Regions from separate parts of the Homo sapiens genome. Here regions 1, 3, 4 and 5 are each linked to region 2. The links are contacts of gene promoters, found by promoter capture Hi-C in blood cells and fetal thymus (Javierre and others, 2016). All regions are on one chromosome and are shown on one strand. The core of a region is centred on a gene start or on the middle of the fragment in contact, and the rest is flanking DNA. Distances in the headings are between cores, read along the strand shown. Region 1 overlaps DDX10 (DEAD-box helicase 10). Region 2 holds the start of CUL5 (cullin 5). Region 3 has its middle 16 kb from the start of EXPH5. Region 4 has its middle 20 kb from the start of DDX10. Region 5 overlaps DDX10 (DEAD-box helicase 10).

Region 1 (2,700 bases), core at 130-2,629, 680 kb after region 2:
TTGAGGCTAAGTTCAAATGTTATGCCTGAAAGTCCCTTTCTGACACTCCCTTTTTAAAGAATCAGTTGTTCCCTCCCCTAACCTTCTGAAGTGTTTTGTTTATATCTTAGTTAATAAACACTTCTTGAACACTAGCCCTGTGCTAGGAATAAAGAATAAGGATTTCAGAGATGTCTAAGAGAACTTTGTCTCCTCTCTTAAGGAGAAGGGACTACGGTCTTTGTGCATGTGTGCGTGCGTGTGCCTCTTCTCCTGTACTATATTTCAGATTCCCAATGACTTAATAGGGAATGTAGTAGATCAATTCTAGATTTACAGCTTTTGCAATAACTTTCCATGATAAATATGTAGATGGGTTTCTCTCTAGCTTATGGGAAGTTAAGTGGTGATCTGATGCTGTTGTCTACTGAACCTTATTTTACCATGTAAAGAATGACTTCAGCCTTGGTGCGGTGGCTCACGCCTGTAATCCCAGCACTTTAAGAGGCTGAGGTAGGAGGATTGCTTGAGTCTAGAAGTTTAAGACCAGCTTGGGCAAGATGGCGACACCCTGTCTTTAAAAAAAAAAAAAAGACTTCAGTTTTTCAAGGACCGATTTTAGATTTTCAAAGCTTCCAGTCTCCTGGGAGCATTCCTCAAGGCAACTTGGAAGTGTATCCTGAGCAGTAGCCAACAACAAAACAATAAACTTCACATCTCCTAAAGAAGAGTTAGTTGGTTTTGGCATCTAGGTGCTAGGAAATGATTCTGAAAGTTCTATTTAAAGTTCTGTTTAAAGTTTCTACTCTTTAGAGTAGGAGATGGCATCAAAGGTGGCCTTGGCATAGTTGCCCAGGGTGGCAATGCAGCCTCTTGGTCGAGGTATAGCAATTGTCAATACCCACCATCAGCAGCAGCTTCTTGGGCATGGGGCTGAGATGATACCAGTGCCTCCTGAGGTGGGGATAAGTCTCACCAGCACAGAGAGGGTCTGTCACCCTGCAAGGGCTGGTGAGCTTGCCGATCTTGTTCCCCAAGTAGCCTCTTGGCACAAGGACAATGGAGAGCTTGGCCAGGATAATGGCTCCTCAAATGGCAGTGGCTACCTCCTTGGAGCACCTGATACCCGTATCAGTGTGGCCATTGTAGTCCCCAGTGGCAACATGCCTTGAATCCAGTGCGTTGGCCAGTGTGGGCCACTTTTGCGCCATGTAATCTTTGAAACCTCATTCTTGAGAGATGCCCCCAGGAAAATGTCAAGGACCTCAGACTCCTTGATGGGCAGGAGAAGAGATAGATCTCCTCCAGGGACTTGGTCTTCATGTCCTTCACCAAGCAGCACAGCTTTGTGACTGGCATCCACCCCTTGGCTTTGCCTCAGTGGCCTTGGTTGCAGGTGCTATTGCTGAAGCCTCCATCGAAGCCTCTGTGGTTTCCAATTCCTTGTCCCGTGGACCCTTCCGCTGCACCAGCATCATCTGCCATTTGATGTTTTCTTGGAGAAGCTGTTTTTACATCTTTACGAAAGAAAGGCCTAAGTCCAGCTATCTCTGATACTTGCCTGATATATTGTCCCAGAATCAGAACCTCCCTGGCAGTAGCAAATTGCATTTGAGAAAGTGAATGGCTAGTGATTGGGTAACAAGCAATTCACTTGGTTTCCCATTCTTTACTGTCAGCAAAATTGAAGAGAGACTTTAATGGGGTCTTTCTCTTTAATTGAGCGACTGGATCACCAAAAATTATTTGGAATAATCCATTATGACTTTTGGCCTATTTTATAGGAGCTCAGAATTAAACTTCCTTTGAGTTTGTTTTATTTATGTGAACAGATTTTAACCCCCATATTAGAGAAAATAAAATAATGCTGAACTCTTTTCAGTCTAGTAATCCATAGTATCCATTTATGGGTACAAAAAGAGAACCAGAACAATTAGCTCTATATAGTCCCACACATTGAGATATATTTACAATGTTTTTATTTATGTCTAACAGTTTTTTAAATCAAATCCCAACATATTTCTTGGTTTGATCAGTTCTGTATTACTAATTATTTTAATAATTGCTGAGTCTGAGAGGAAAGTTCAGTCAGCCTATGGCCACAGGAAATTAAAATAAGTTTTTTCTTTTGTAGAAAATGAGTTATGATAACATCAATAAAAGGCTTTCAAGCTTCAAACTTAAGATGCAATTCTGTGACGTTAGGAAATAGAAATGTGAATTAAAGGAGGGAAGGAAATTAAATTGCTTGTGATTAAATAAGAGTTTCTTTACTTTTTTTACTTGGTTGGAATTGGGTATCACATTGCTCTGCTGTTGAGACTCTGTGGGATACGTTGATAAGAGAAAAGCTTTATTGCTGCCATCTGCCATAAGCAAACTTATTCTTCTGTTGATGCCCCAGGTCCAGTATCTGTACCGAGTGTTTTGCCGGCTACGTCCTGGTGTTTCTATCCTTGCACTCCATGGTCGACAGCAGCAAATGAGAAGAATGGAAGTCTATAATGAGTTTGTCCGTAAGAGAGCTGCAGTACTCTTTGCTACTGATATTGCAGCCAGGGGTCTGGGTAAGAAAACTTCCTATCATGAAATTTCTGTGATTGTGTGAAATGTAATTTGCTTATAAAGTATATTTTGGGAAATCTGATAGACTCAAACACTTGGGTTTCTTTTCTTATTTTGTAAGAGAAAAGTAAGTAGTAAATTGGTAGCAGTTGACTA
Region 2 (2,700 bases), core at 105-2,604:
GAGTTGTAGCAGTGGTGTTTCCAGAACAAGTGAGTTAGGAAAATTGGAATGCTTCGGTTGACAGTAGGACGCTGAAATCAAGCTCTCAAAAGTTGTCTTAAGGTTCAGTTAAGCATAAGCAAAGGGTGGCTTGGGTAGATGGAGATTAGGATACTAGTTTCCTTTCCCTTCCTACGCTCTCAAGTGCACACTGTATTTTTTTGTTTGTAGTTTTTTTTTGTTTTTTTTGTTTTTTTTTTGAGACAAGAGTCTCGCTCTGTCGTCCAGGCTGGAGTGCAATAGCGCGATCTCGGCTCACTGCAATCTCCACCTTCAGGGTTCAAGCGATTCTCCTGCTTCAGCCTCCCGAGTAGCTGGGATTACAGGTGCCCGCCACCATGCCCGGCTAATTTGTGTATTTTTAGTAGAGACAGGGGTTCACCATGTTGGCCAGGCTGGTCGCGGACTCCTGACCGCAGGTGTCTCGGCCTCCCAAAGTGCCGATTATAGGCGTGAGCCACGGGGCCCTATAGGGATTATAGGCGTGAGCCACTGCGCCCGGCCTCTTTGCAATATTTATCACAACTCCCACTAAGTAATATTTGACTTGTGTAGCCATCCTTAACATTTGGCTACCTTATTAGGCCATAAACTCCAAACGAGCAGGGGTCTTCTCTTTTATTTAATCCTGTATTTCCTGTGCCTAGTATATACAAGTGCTCAAACAAGTATTAACTACTTGATTGGATTCTTTAAGTAGGCCCATCCCTCTTCTCTTAGTCCAGAGCTCTTACTTATTTCTACGCATTATGGCCGTATGAAGGCTGTTTGTAAACCTGCAAAATACAATACCAGGTATCCTGCAGGTTCCACATGTAAATTATATTATCTCATTGGCCAGTGGTGTGTGGTCTGAAGGGGTAAAACCCGGAGGCTTATGGTTTAGGATCTTCTAGGATAATGTGCCTTCAGAAAATCGAAGATTAATATTCATTCTCTAAACAATCTTTTTTTTTTTTTTTCAAACTTTTTTGTAATGACGAGGGTGTTGAACTGGCCTCAAGTGATCCTCCCCCTTCGGCCTCCCAAAGCACTGAACAATATTTTATCTAAGTGCCAAGCATTCCTGAATAGAAATATTAAGAGTCATCACGCTTGTGCAGTCAACACATATTTACTGGGCGCATTCTATGCACGAGTTATTGAAGACAGCTGTTGTAAGCATTTCAGGACAATGCACCTCCCTTAACACCGAGTCCGGGATTTGGGGCGGGGTGCCGGAAAACGCCAGGTCCCGCCAGCAGAGGGCACGGTCCCGGCCTCGCTGCAGCCTCGGGACCCACCGAGGCTTCCAGGCTCCCACGCTCGCTCCCGAGCGCGTCCCCGCCCTCGCGTCACGTGACGTGGCCGCGGAACCTGAGCTGCGGGGCCTAAGCCGAGCTAAATTCGTTGCAGGTGGCCGCGGCGGGTGCAACCACAAAGGCTAATCCGAAGGAGTCGGGGAGGCTCGTGGAGTCGATGCTTCCTCTTCCAAGTCAGGTCGGCTCCCGTTACCTTCTCAGCATTCGCCGTTCCGGTCTTCCTGAGCGCGTGCATGAGGTCTTTCGCGTGGGGAAGCTCCGGTGACCATGTAGGGGAGAAGAGTGAGGAAGCTCCTGGTGCTTGGGACGAGGTCAGCGCTGTCGGCGCGCTGCTCCAGCGCCCACCACACCCTGGTGCGGGCCGACGGGCCCTGGGCCCTGGTGGGAGCTCCGGCCTCCGGTCAAGGCCTGGCCGGGAGCGCCACGAATTCTCGCGTCGTCTCGCGAGAGTCCAAGTTAAAGAACATGGCGACGTCTAATCTGTTAAAGGTAAGACCCTCACTCCAGCTTGGGTTTTACTGTGTGGCCGCCGGGTTCGGCTCTTTGGGAAAGGCACGGCTCAGGTTCAGCTGCGAAGTGTGGGAGTGTTCAGGGGTTGTCCACTGGCAGGGAAGCCGCGGTGGCAGCCGGCGAGTACCGGAACGCGGGTCTGTGGCCTTGGGGTCGACAGGCTCTGGTGGTCGCTCCCGCCGACTGGCCGCTGGGAGAAAAGCCTGGCTGAGCGCTGGCGAGGAGCGATGCTTTCAAGGGACCAGCTCTGGCCGGGAGCGGGAGATGAATGGTCGTGCGGTGTCCTGACCAGCTGGGCCGTTAGTACTGTTAGGTCTCAGTTTCTTGTAAAGCAATGTCTAAGACGCATCAAAGGAAAAACCAAGAAAATGCTGCCTAACAGGTTTCAGTGACTCGACCCCCCACTTCTTCCATTTCTGTTCTCGTTCTGTCTGCACGAAATTCCGAGTCAGACCAGCAGTGCCTCCCACTCCACCCCCCTTCCTCCCTTTTCTGCGTGTTACACCTTCCCTCCTAATTCTCCCATTCTTGAGTTCATCTTTTTCCTTAGGAAACTGCTTTCTAACCCCCACCCAGTTACAGGACACAACCAGATGACAACTGATGAAGCGATACCATCGTTTTAGGGCGCAGGAAAGTTACCTTGTCAAAGACAGTATTTAAAGTTAGTTTTATATAGCAAGGGAGATCTAGGCCCACAGGGGCAGATTCTCCACCAGTTAAAAAGTTTGGAGAAGAATGAGGAAGACTTAGAACTAGTCTGTTCTGTGTATGTGTCTGTAGTAGTTAATCATTTGCCTTAAAAGTACGGACAGAAATGGGGGTAGTGAATAGCTCAGGGAACATAATA
Region 3 (2,700 bases), core at 44-2,543, 600 kb after region 2:
AATTTTTGTATTTTTAGTAGAGATGGGATTTCACCATGTTACCCAGGCTGGTCTTGAACTCCCGGGCTCAAGCAATCTGCCTGCCTCGGCCTTCCAAAGTGCTGGGATTACAGGCATGAGCCACCACGCCCAGCCCACAGCTATTAAACTTAGCTTTCCCTAAATGTTCCTCTATGTGTTGTTGAATGTGTATTTGCTGAGTATAGGAGAAAGGAAGTTTTCCATGCTTCTCTGCAGCTCCTTCCCAGAAGCTAAGAGAATTGGGCTAATACCTATTTGGTGGTATAGAAAATTGCTCAAGCAGAGATTGCAAAGACTTCTGTCTTAGAGAGCTGCTCTCTGCAAGCCAAAGTCACATCCTCTGGCCTGGTGCAGGGGCTCACACCTGTAAACCCAGCTACCTGGGAGGCTGAGGCAGGAGGATCGCATGAGCCCAGGAATTGGAGGTTACAGTGAGCCATGATCATGCCTGGGTGACAGAGAAAGATCCTGTCTCAACAAAACAAAACAAAACAAAAGACAAAGTCAAATTCTCTGTGTGAGAGAGAGGGGGAGGGGATCAGAGAAGGGGGAGGAGAAAAGGAGGAAAAGGAGAGGGAGGAGGAAGAGAGGAAAGAGGAGGGGAAAGAGAAGAGAAAGAAAGGAGAGGGAGCAAGTCCAGGGCTGAAGGCTGATTCCAGCAACCATTGTCCTTGAGAATTATTCCTGCCTGAATTAGTCCTCTATACTCAAACTCCTTTTGGGATCTTGGTATCTCACAGTGATACATGATCTTTGCTGATATTATCCTATGTATGTGATTCTTAAGCAGGGGCAATTTCTCTTCACACCCACCCCAGTGGGGACAATTGGCCATTCCCTAGACATTTTTGATTGTCACAGCTCCAGGGATGGGTTGGGGAGGGATTGGCGGTAGAGGGGGTGGGTAGCTACTGGCATCTAGTTCTTAGAAAACAGAGATCCTACTAAACCTCCTTCAATGCTCAGGATGACCCCTGAAGATAAGGAATCATTCAGTGCAAAAGGTCAATACTGCAAGGTTGAGCAGCTTTCTTCTATTTGATATTGTTCTGCCTGATCAGCCTGATGTGTGACCCTGGTCATTCCCTACCTCCCATCCCACTCCCTTTGCTATCAACTGGAACATGTTTCTGTTTATGTCTTCCACCCACAAATGTAATGCCTTTTCCATCTTAATTCAGCATTTATTATGCGCCGTGGCCATAACTTTTGCAGTCTGAGGTGTAAAAGCAAGACTAGCACACATTTCTTTTTTCTCCTTCAAAATTTCACTGATAGAAGATTTGTTTATATAGTTGATCTTAGCAAACCCCCTCATTGTATGAATTTTTTTCTTTCCTTATTAAGTTGAGAACTCTCACCCTTTCACTTAAAGGAAGCACTTTACAACTTCTCTTTGGCATGACTGAATTTCCAGCATCACTACTGTTGTGCTTTGGGGCCATTATGAAATAAAACAAGGGTGACTTGAACACGAGCACTGTGAGACCTCAACCGTCAATCTGATAATCAAGACAGCTGCTAAGTGACTAAGGTGCAGGGAATGTAGACAGCATGGATACACTGGACAAAGGGAGGATCCATATCCTGTGTGGGATGGAGCAGGATGGTGTGAGATTTCATCACACTACTCAGAAAAGTGTGCAATTTAACACTTATGAATTGTTTATTTCTCGAAGTTTCCATTTAATATTTTCGGACCGCAATTGCAAAAAGTGCAGTCTTAGATAAAGGGGGCCTATTGTATGTGGGCTCATGAGCAGCTAGGCTATAAAAGAGGCTCAGCCTTGCACTGTTGCTCCCCTGCAGAAAAGCTCGGATGTTATTTCTCTCCATTTTCTTCCTTTTTAATTTTTTAAATTAATTAATTAATTGATTTTTGAGACAGGGTCTTGCTCTGTCACCCAGGCTGGAGTGCAGTGGCACAATCAAGGCTCACTGCAGCCTCAATCTCCTGGGCTCAAGCAATTCTCCCACCTCGGCCCCCCTGGAACTACAGGCAGGCATGCGCCACCATGCCCAGCTAATTTTTGTATTTTTGTATTTTTTTTTTTTTTTGTAGAGAGAGTGCTTTGCCATGTTGTCTAGGCTGGTCTTGAACTCGTGGACTCAAGCAATCCGTCCTTGGCCTCACAAAGTGCTAGGATTAGAGAGATGAGCCACCATGGCCCCTTTTTTAGATAAGCTGATTTTCAGACCTCTTATTGAAGAACTGAGTAAAATAATAAAATTCCAAGTAATTCTTATAGCTATTTTTTATTTACCTTTGAAAGTGATATTGATATTTTTATTGATATACTTCTCTGCCAAACATTTGCCTGACTTGGCTTCCTAAATGAAGCTATTTGGAATGGATCTGCAGACCCTATGGTGGTGGTAGACAGGAAGTACCCAGGAGAGTGCAGAATTGGAGGGCAAGAAAGGAAAAGAGTGTCATACTCTGGTGATCATGCCATGCTTTTATAAGACATGGATTACCACAATAGCCACAAAATTTTGTTTCATTTTTTTTTCTTTGGAGGGAGGGGATAAGAAACTAAAATGAATATTCTATTTGACAATGTTTGCTTCAGACTTGAAAAATCCATCATGTGCAAAATGTCAAGCCTCAAATAGGACAGTAGACTACCCAGGATTTTGAATAATTTAATTCAGTATTTATGTCCATCCCAGGAATAT
Region 4 (2,700 bases), core at 147-2,646, 640 kb after region 2:
TGTTTTATAAATGCCAAAGTCCAAACTCTAGGTGAGGTGGTAGGAAAAAGATCAGGGAGCAATATTTTGCCTAAGACATAGTATGGCCATGACCCATTTCAGAGGTTTTTTCAAAGCATAAGATGAATAGCCCACCAGAGGTCCCACGAGAAAATTCAAAGGACAAGATGTCATTGTATCTGATTATAACTGTAGGTCCTTTACCTACAGGGTCCTTTACCTACAGGGTCCTTTACCTACTGGCACCAAGATACCAGGTTGCAGCAGAGAAAGAGGTGTAATCATAGGGCCTTTGAAGAGGAAATGGGAGAAACCTCAAATCTGTCTCCCTGAGGAGTTTGGGGATAGAGTTTTTAAGGGTTTTGGAGTGGGCCAAAGCATGGAGATTGTTGATCAGTTGAAAAGTGCAGAGTGAAGTCAAGGGACAGGGAGATAAGGAAACTGTTTTCTCATGCTGATTTGGTTCCTCTGTGGGGGTCTTTAAACTGGTTGGCATCAGCTGTTTCCCTGGGATTTGGGATCTAAAAAACACCTTAAGCAATTCATAAGCAAAAGCCATATGATTCTAACATCAGAGATCCTAACTGTAGGAACAGTGGGAATGCAAATGGTCAGTATCTAATGTTACTTTCAGTTACAAGGAAGAGGGCAAAGCGCAGCCTGATTAACTATAGCTGCTTAATTATAACTATATTTCTGTCCAGAATTCTTGTTAACCCTGTGAGGACAGCTTGATAATTACAGAGATTTGTAGTACACATACACATAGGGTGACTCTGAGGGTAGTGGCTGATGTAGGGACAATGGTTTCTTTTTTAACAGCTTTATTGAGATATAATTCACATACCAAACAATTTACACATTTAAAATGTACAGTTTGGCCAGGCACTGTGGCTCACACCTGTAATCCCAACACTTTGCGAGGCTGAGGTGGGCAGGTGTCTTGAGCTCAAGAGTTCGAGACCAGCCTGGGCAATATGGCAAAACCCAGTCTCTAGAGAAAATTTATAAATTATCTAGGCATGGTGGCACACACTTATAGTCCTAGGAACTTGGGAGGCTGAGGCAGGAGGATAACTTGAGCCCAGGCGGTTGAGGCTGCAGTGAGCCATGTTCATGCCACTGCACTCCAGCCTGGGCAACAAAGTGAAACCTATCTCAAAAAAACAAAAACAAAAACAAAAACAAACAAACAAACAAAAGCCAGTACAATTCAATGGTTTTTAGTATATTTTAAAAGCTATGCAAAATAATAATAATAAAATATTAAAAAAGAAAGAAAGCTATGGAACCATCACCATGGTTTTAGGACATTTTCATCCTCAAAAGAAATGTCATGCCCATTAGTAGTCATTCTCCATTTTCCCCACTGCCTCCCTACCCTCTCCCACTGCCCTAGGCAACCACTCATCCACCTTCTGTTTCTATACATTTGGATATTCTGGTTATTTCATATGAATGGAATCATACACTTTGTGGTCTTTTATGACTGGCTTTTTTTTCACATAGCATAATGTCTTCAACAGTGACTTCTTGCAGTTGGACCCAAGGCTGTCCCGATAGAGTCTGACTTATTTCTTGGAGGGAGGTAGTTACACTCATGGATGGCCAAAGCTGTAATTATTAAACTGAAGAGTGCCAGGGGACTTGGCTTTTCCTCCACTCCTTATGTTCCACAGAGGGGAGGGATGATCTCTCTAGAAAGAAAAAGCACGGGAAGAATCCCATAACAATGCCAAACAGCATGAGAACTCTATGCAGAAAGAATTGCTATGAGCTCGATGGAGGAAACACTTGCAGTGTGTTTTAGGTGATGGCTCAGATTTAGATAGAAGAATATGAGGGCAGAACCTAGTACAGAATCAAGTAGGCAGAAAATGGAAAAATCTGTTAAATTATAACCTGTCATATAAATACCTAAGGGGTATGTTGATGCTTGTGTCTACATGTTAAAGACGACCATAATCACCCAAATGGTATCATGAACAAGATGCTTGGAAAATCCCAGGCAAATATTTATAGGCATACACTGCATACTTCGTTAATAATAAAATATGCATAGCTGTGTTATGGCCTGCAGTGATAAATATCTGCATATTTAGAAAACCACCTGCTTTCAGAAATCATTTTCTCCTCTGTTACTGCCTTGCTTTCCTTGATGACTACAAGGATTCTATTTACTTTAAATTATTAAATTCAGGATATAATTTGAACATAATAAGAAGTACAAGTAGAATTTCAAATATAGCATTAACAGCTGGGCACAGTAGCTCATGCCTATAATCCCAGTACTCTGGGAGGCCGAGGTGGGAAGACTGCTTGAAGCCAGGAGTTTGAGACCAGCCTGAGCAACATAGCAAGACCCCGACTCTACAAAAATAAATTTAAAAATGAGCTGGTTGTAGTGGCATGCACCTATAGTCCCAGCTACTTGGGAGGCTGAGATGGGAGGATTGCTTGAGCCCAGGAGTTCAAGGCTACAGTAAGCTATGATCATGCCATTGTTCTCTAGCCTGGATGACAGAGTGAGACCCTGTCTCTAAAACCAACCAACCAACCAGCCAACCAACCAACCAACACAAACAAAAATGTGATAGCAATTAACTGTATCTTCTGCTATGTACTGAATATTTGTTATTACACACTAGATTGTTCTTGCTGATAGAATTTTGAAGCCATTTTCTGTTTCCAGATCAGCAT
Region 5 (2,700 bases), core at 190-2,689, 720 kb after region 2:
TCCCTTTCTTGTCTCTCTGGAAAAAGAAGATTTGTACAAGAACCAAATTGAAACTTGGAGCCAGTAGGAACCCATTGGATTGTAGATTTTATGGAATATGTCTAATAATCATATCATTATAATTAAGACCATAATTATTTGGCATTTTACCATATACTGAACACTTTCTGCATAAGTTCTCATTTTTCCTTATGACAAGAAAGGTAGCTATTAAAATTTCGGAGGAGGAAAGGAAGGCTTTTAAGTGACTTGTCCAAGGTCACAGTGGTGAAGTTAGCAGTTAAACCTATTTGTGATGCTAAGTCACATTTTCTTTCTCTGCTGTCGTGCCTACCATTATTTGTGTGTAGTTTGCTTTCTGTAATTGGGTAATGTCAGTGTAATTGACAGTATTGTAAATAATTTTGGGCTACTCATTGTGTGCGCACACTTGGAGTATAAAATGAATGTTTGCCTTTAGACTTCGGCGTAAATGGAGACGAGAGGTACTGAGTGCCAGGTGCAAGCAAGGCCTTCTGGAATGCTGCCTTGTCACAATCCTTTTCTGTTTGACGAGATCGATGCAGTGAAGGACAACAAGATTTTCTTAGCAGTGGAGAAGTGCCACGAGTGATGAAGCAATAAGACATGTGCAGGAGAGAGCGCAGGTGTAGTGATCAGGCACAAAGGCAGTAAGAGATGGCTGGTTGACCTCCCACCATAGGGAAGAACCTTGTTTTGGCTAATTGTCTTGTTGGGTGTTCAGAAAGTTGACCTCCAGGGAGACAGTGTTAGATAAGAGCATGAACATACAATTAAAATGATTAAATTAAAATTTATTTTTGGAACACTTATTTCCTTAAATGTGAGAATGAAATCTCTAAGCATATGCTTTCTTTTCTTTTTCAGTTTAAACCTTTTTAGAAATGAGACTGGGTAGATTCCATTTTAGCTCAACAAATGTCCTTTTAAAGCTTTCTTAAAAGTAAACATAGGTCAGTTTTAATTAAGATTTGAATGATACCCATAGATTATTCATTGTACCTTAGAGTTGATTCCAGATCCTGTTTACATTGATTTAGTCCTACTTTTTTTTTTTTTTTTAGTAGCTTTTTCTTTTTTTAGTACTGTAAGAACTCACTGTTGGTGTTAAAACACAGATTAGCTAACTTTGAAGCTTATAAGTATACTCTTATAAAAAGATTCCAAGTTCCAAATCAAGATTCTCCTATGTGGGAGCTAGGATGTTTCTGCCTCTTGTCTCTTCACTTTTTCTCTTTCTCTCTTTTTCCCTCCTTTCAGCAGCAGTTACCTAACGGATGCCAGGGACTGTGTTAGGTACTTAGTGACTTTTAGGAACTTGGACTAAGTATTTGTAAAATAAGTACTGGAAAATGATTAACATCTATCAATTTTTTTATAACTTACCATGCACTTTGACTATCATATCTCACTTATTTAAATTCTTACCACAGCCTTGTGTAGTGTTGTTGTCATGTTACAAGTTCAGACACAGGCTTTGACAGGTTCACTTACTTCCTTGCCTAATGTTGCATAGTTAGTGAAGCGCTAGCACTGGAGTCTGTACTTAGGCCCCTCTGACTTGCCTCGGTATGATTGTGCTTGCTTTGATTCCCGTCATTTCTACATTTAGTGGTGGCTTTTAGTGTTCCATTTTCACTTCCCACTTACACTGCCATTCTGCCCCCAGATTCTTATTACCTCATTCTTGGCTCGGGGGGATAAGCTTCATAATTGGTTCTCGTTGTTCTTCTGAGTCATCTTCCTGTGAACCTTGGTCAAATTAGTATTTTTTTTCAAGTGGTTTACCTTCCATGCTACCCTTAAGTTCACCCTTGCAGTTGGGTTTTGTAAGCTAGCCCCTATCCTATTGTCCTGCGAGACCATTCTTCCCAGTTTCCACTTAAACAGTGAAGGATTCCTTCCTGGATTATTTTCTTCCCACTCCAGCATTTCACATCTTTCAAGATGCAGTGCTTATCTTGTCTCTTCTTTGAAGCCATCCCTTACTTCTTCAACCCACTGACCTCTGGATTCCAATGGTCTATTTTGCTAGTATTTTTTTCTTTTTCTTGACATTTCATAATGTAGCCACATGTCTCTTAATTTTTATCTCTTCCATACCTGGTGATTTGTGTTCAGGGGCCTTATGTAATGTTCAGTTGACTTAAACAGAAGGAAGAACTCTAAAGTCAAGACTACTGTACTCCGAATTTTTGCTACCATGAAGTGAAACAATGGTAGCATGATCTCAGATGTTGCCAGCTGAAATAGTTTGGTATATATGCTCATTTGTCTTATAGGTGTCTTTTCTGTTTTTTGGCATCCTGTGCTTAATTCTTTTTTTGTAATCTAAGCTTTGTTCCAATTCAAAAGGAGTTGTTATTGTGTAACATGAAGCTTAGATGCATATATTGAGTTGCTTTATGTATTTTTTTTCCTATTTGAGTTTGGTATGCAGATGACTTCCTGAGGATGTAAATTTTCAGTGGAAAGCTTAAAGCTGGTTTTGGCATGATGTTTATTCTGTAACATGCTGAATCATTATATCAAATATTGAGTCGTTTTCCTTTATCTCCTTCTTTTATACAATATTCAATATTTATAACATCTGCTAACTACTGAATTTTTAAATCTACTTTTGTGGTTGAAGTTTAAACAGCTACTTTTACAGGCCGTATTTATCTTTATTTTAAGGTA

Evidence for each region. Contacts are between HindIII fragments. The CHiCAGO score rates a contact against its expected background, and 5 or more counts as called.
Region 1: a contact is called between a fragment that was not itself captured here and the fragment with the promoter of CUL5 in region 2, in 1 of 17 cell types (total CD4 T cells). The highest score is 5.2, in total CD4 T cells.
Region 3: a contact is called between a fragment that was not itself captured here and the fragment with the promoter of CUL5 in region 2, in 1 of 17 cell types (naive CD4 T cells). The highest score is 5.5, in naive CD4 T cells.
Region 4: a fragment that was not itself captured here is called in contact with the fragment with the promoter of CUL5 in region 2 in 3 of 17 cell types (fetal thymus, naive CD4 T cells and naive CD8 T cells); the score reaches 6.2 in fetal thymus.
Region 5: a contact is called between a fragment that was not itself captured here and the fragment with the promoter of CUL5 in region 2, in 1 of 17 cell types (total CD8 T cells). The highest score is 5.7, in total CD8 T cells.

The regions. Positions count from the first base shown.
Region 1 is chr11:108,689,493-108,692,192 of GRCh38, forward strand. It overlaps DDX10 (DEAD-box helicase 10), which reads left to right. Exons shown (of 18, transcript NM_004398.4): 8 at 2,384-2,546. It also overlaps the pseudogene RPS2P39. Among named protein-coding and RNA genes, the nearest start is that of DDX10, 26 kb to the left of the region's middle. The HindIII fragment of the contact is 1,540 bases long and covers 610-2,149 here.
Region 2 is chr11:108,007,544-108,010,243 of GRCh38, forward strand. CUL5 (cullin 5) reads left to right here and starts at 1,355. Exons shown (of 19, transcript NM_003478.6): 1 at 1,355-1,829. The coding sequence starts at 1,806. RefSeq lists enhancers at 1,480-1,579, 1,680-1,869. The HindIII fragment of the contact is 8,314 bases long and covers 1-2,700 here.
Region 3 is chr11:108,608,309-108,611,008 of GRCh38, forward strand. No RefSeq gene overlaps it. Among named protein-coding and RNA genes, the nearest start is that of EXPH5, 16 kb to the left of the region's middle. The HindIII fragment of the contact is 5,891 bases long and covers 1-2,700 here.
Region 4 is chr11:108,644,154-108,646,853 of GRCh38, forward strand. No RefSeq gene overlaps it. Among named protein-coding and RNA genes, the nearest start is that of DDX10, 20 kb to the right of the region's middle. The HindIII fragment of the contact is 8,630 bases long and covers 1-2,700 here.
Region 5 is chr11:108,732,043-108,734,742 of GRCh38, forward strand. The region is part of intron 13 of DDX10 (DEAD-box helicase 10); the gene reads left to right. The region is part of intron 2 of LOC124902750 (a long non-coding RNA gene); the gene reads right to left. Among named protein-coding and RNA genes, the nearest start is that of DDX10, 68 kb to the left of the region's middle. RefSeq lists an enhancer at 1,730-1,849. The HindIII fragment of the contact is 570 bases long and covers 1,155-1,724 here.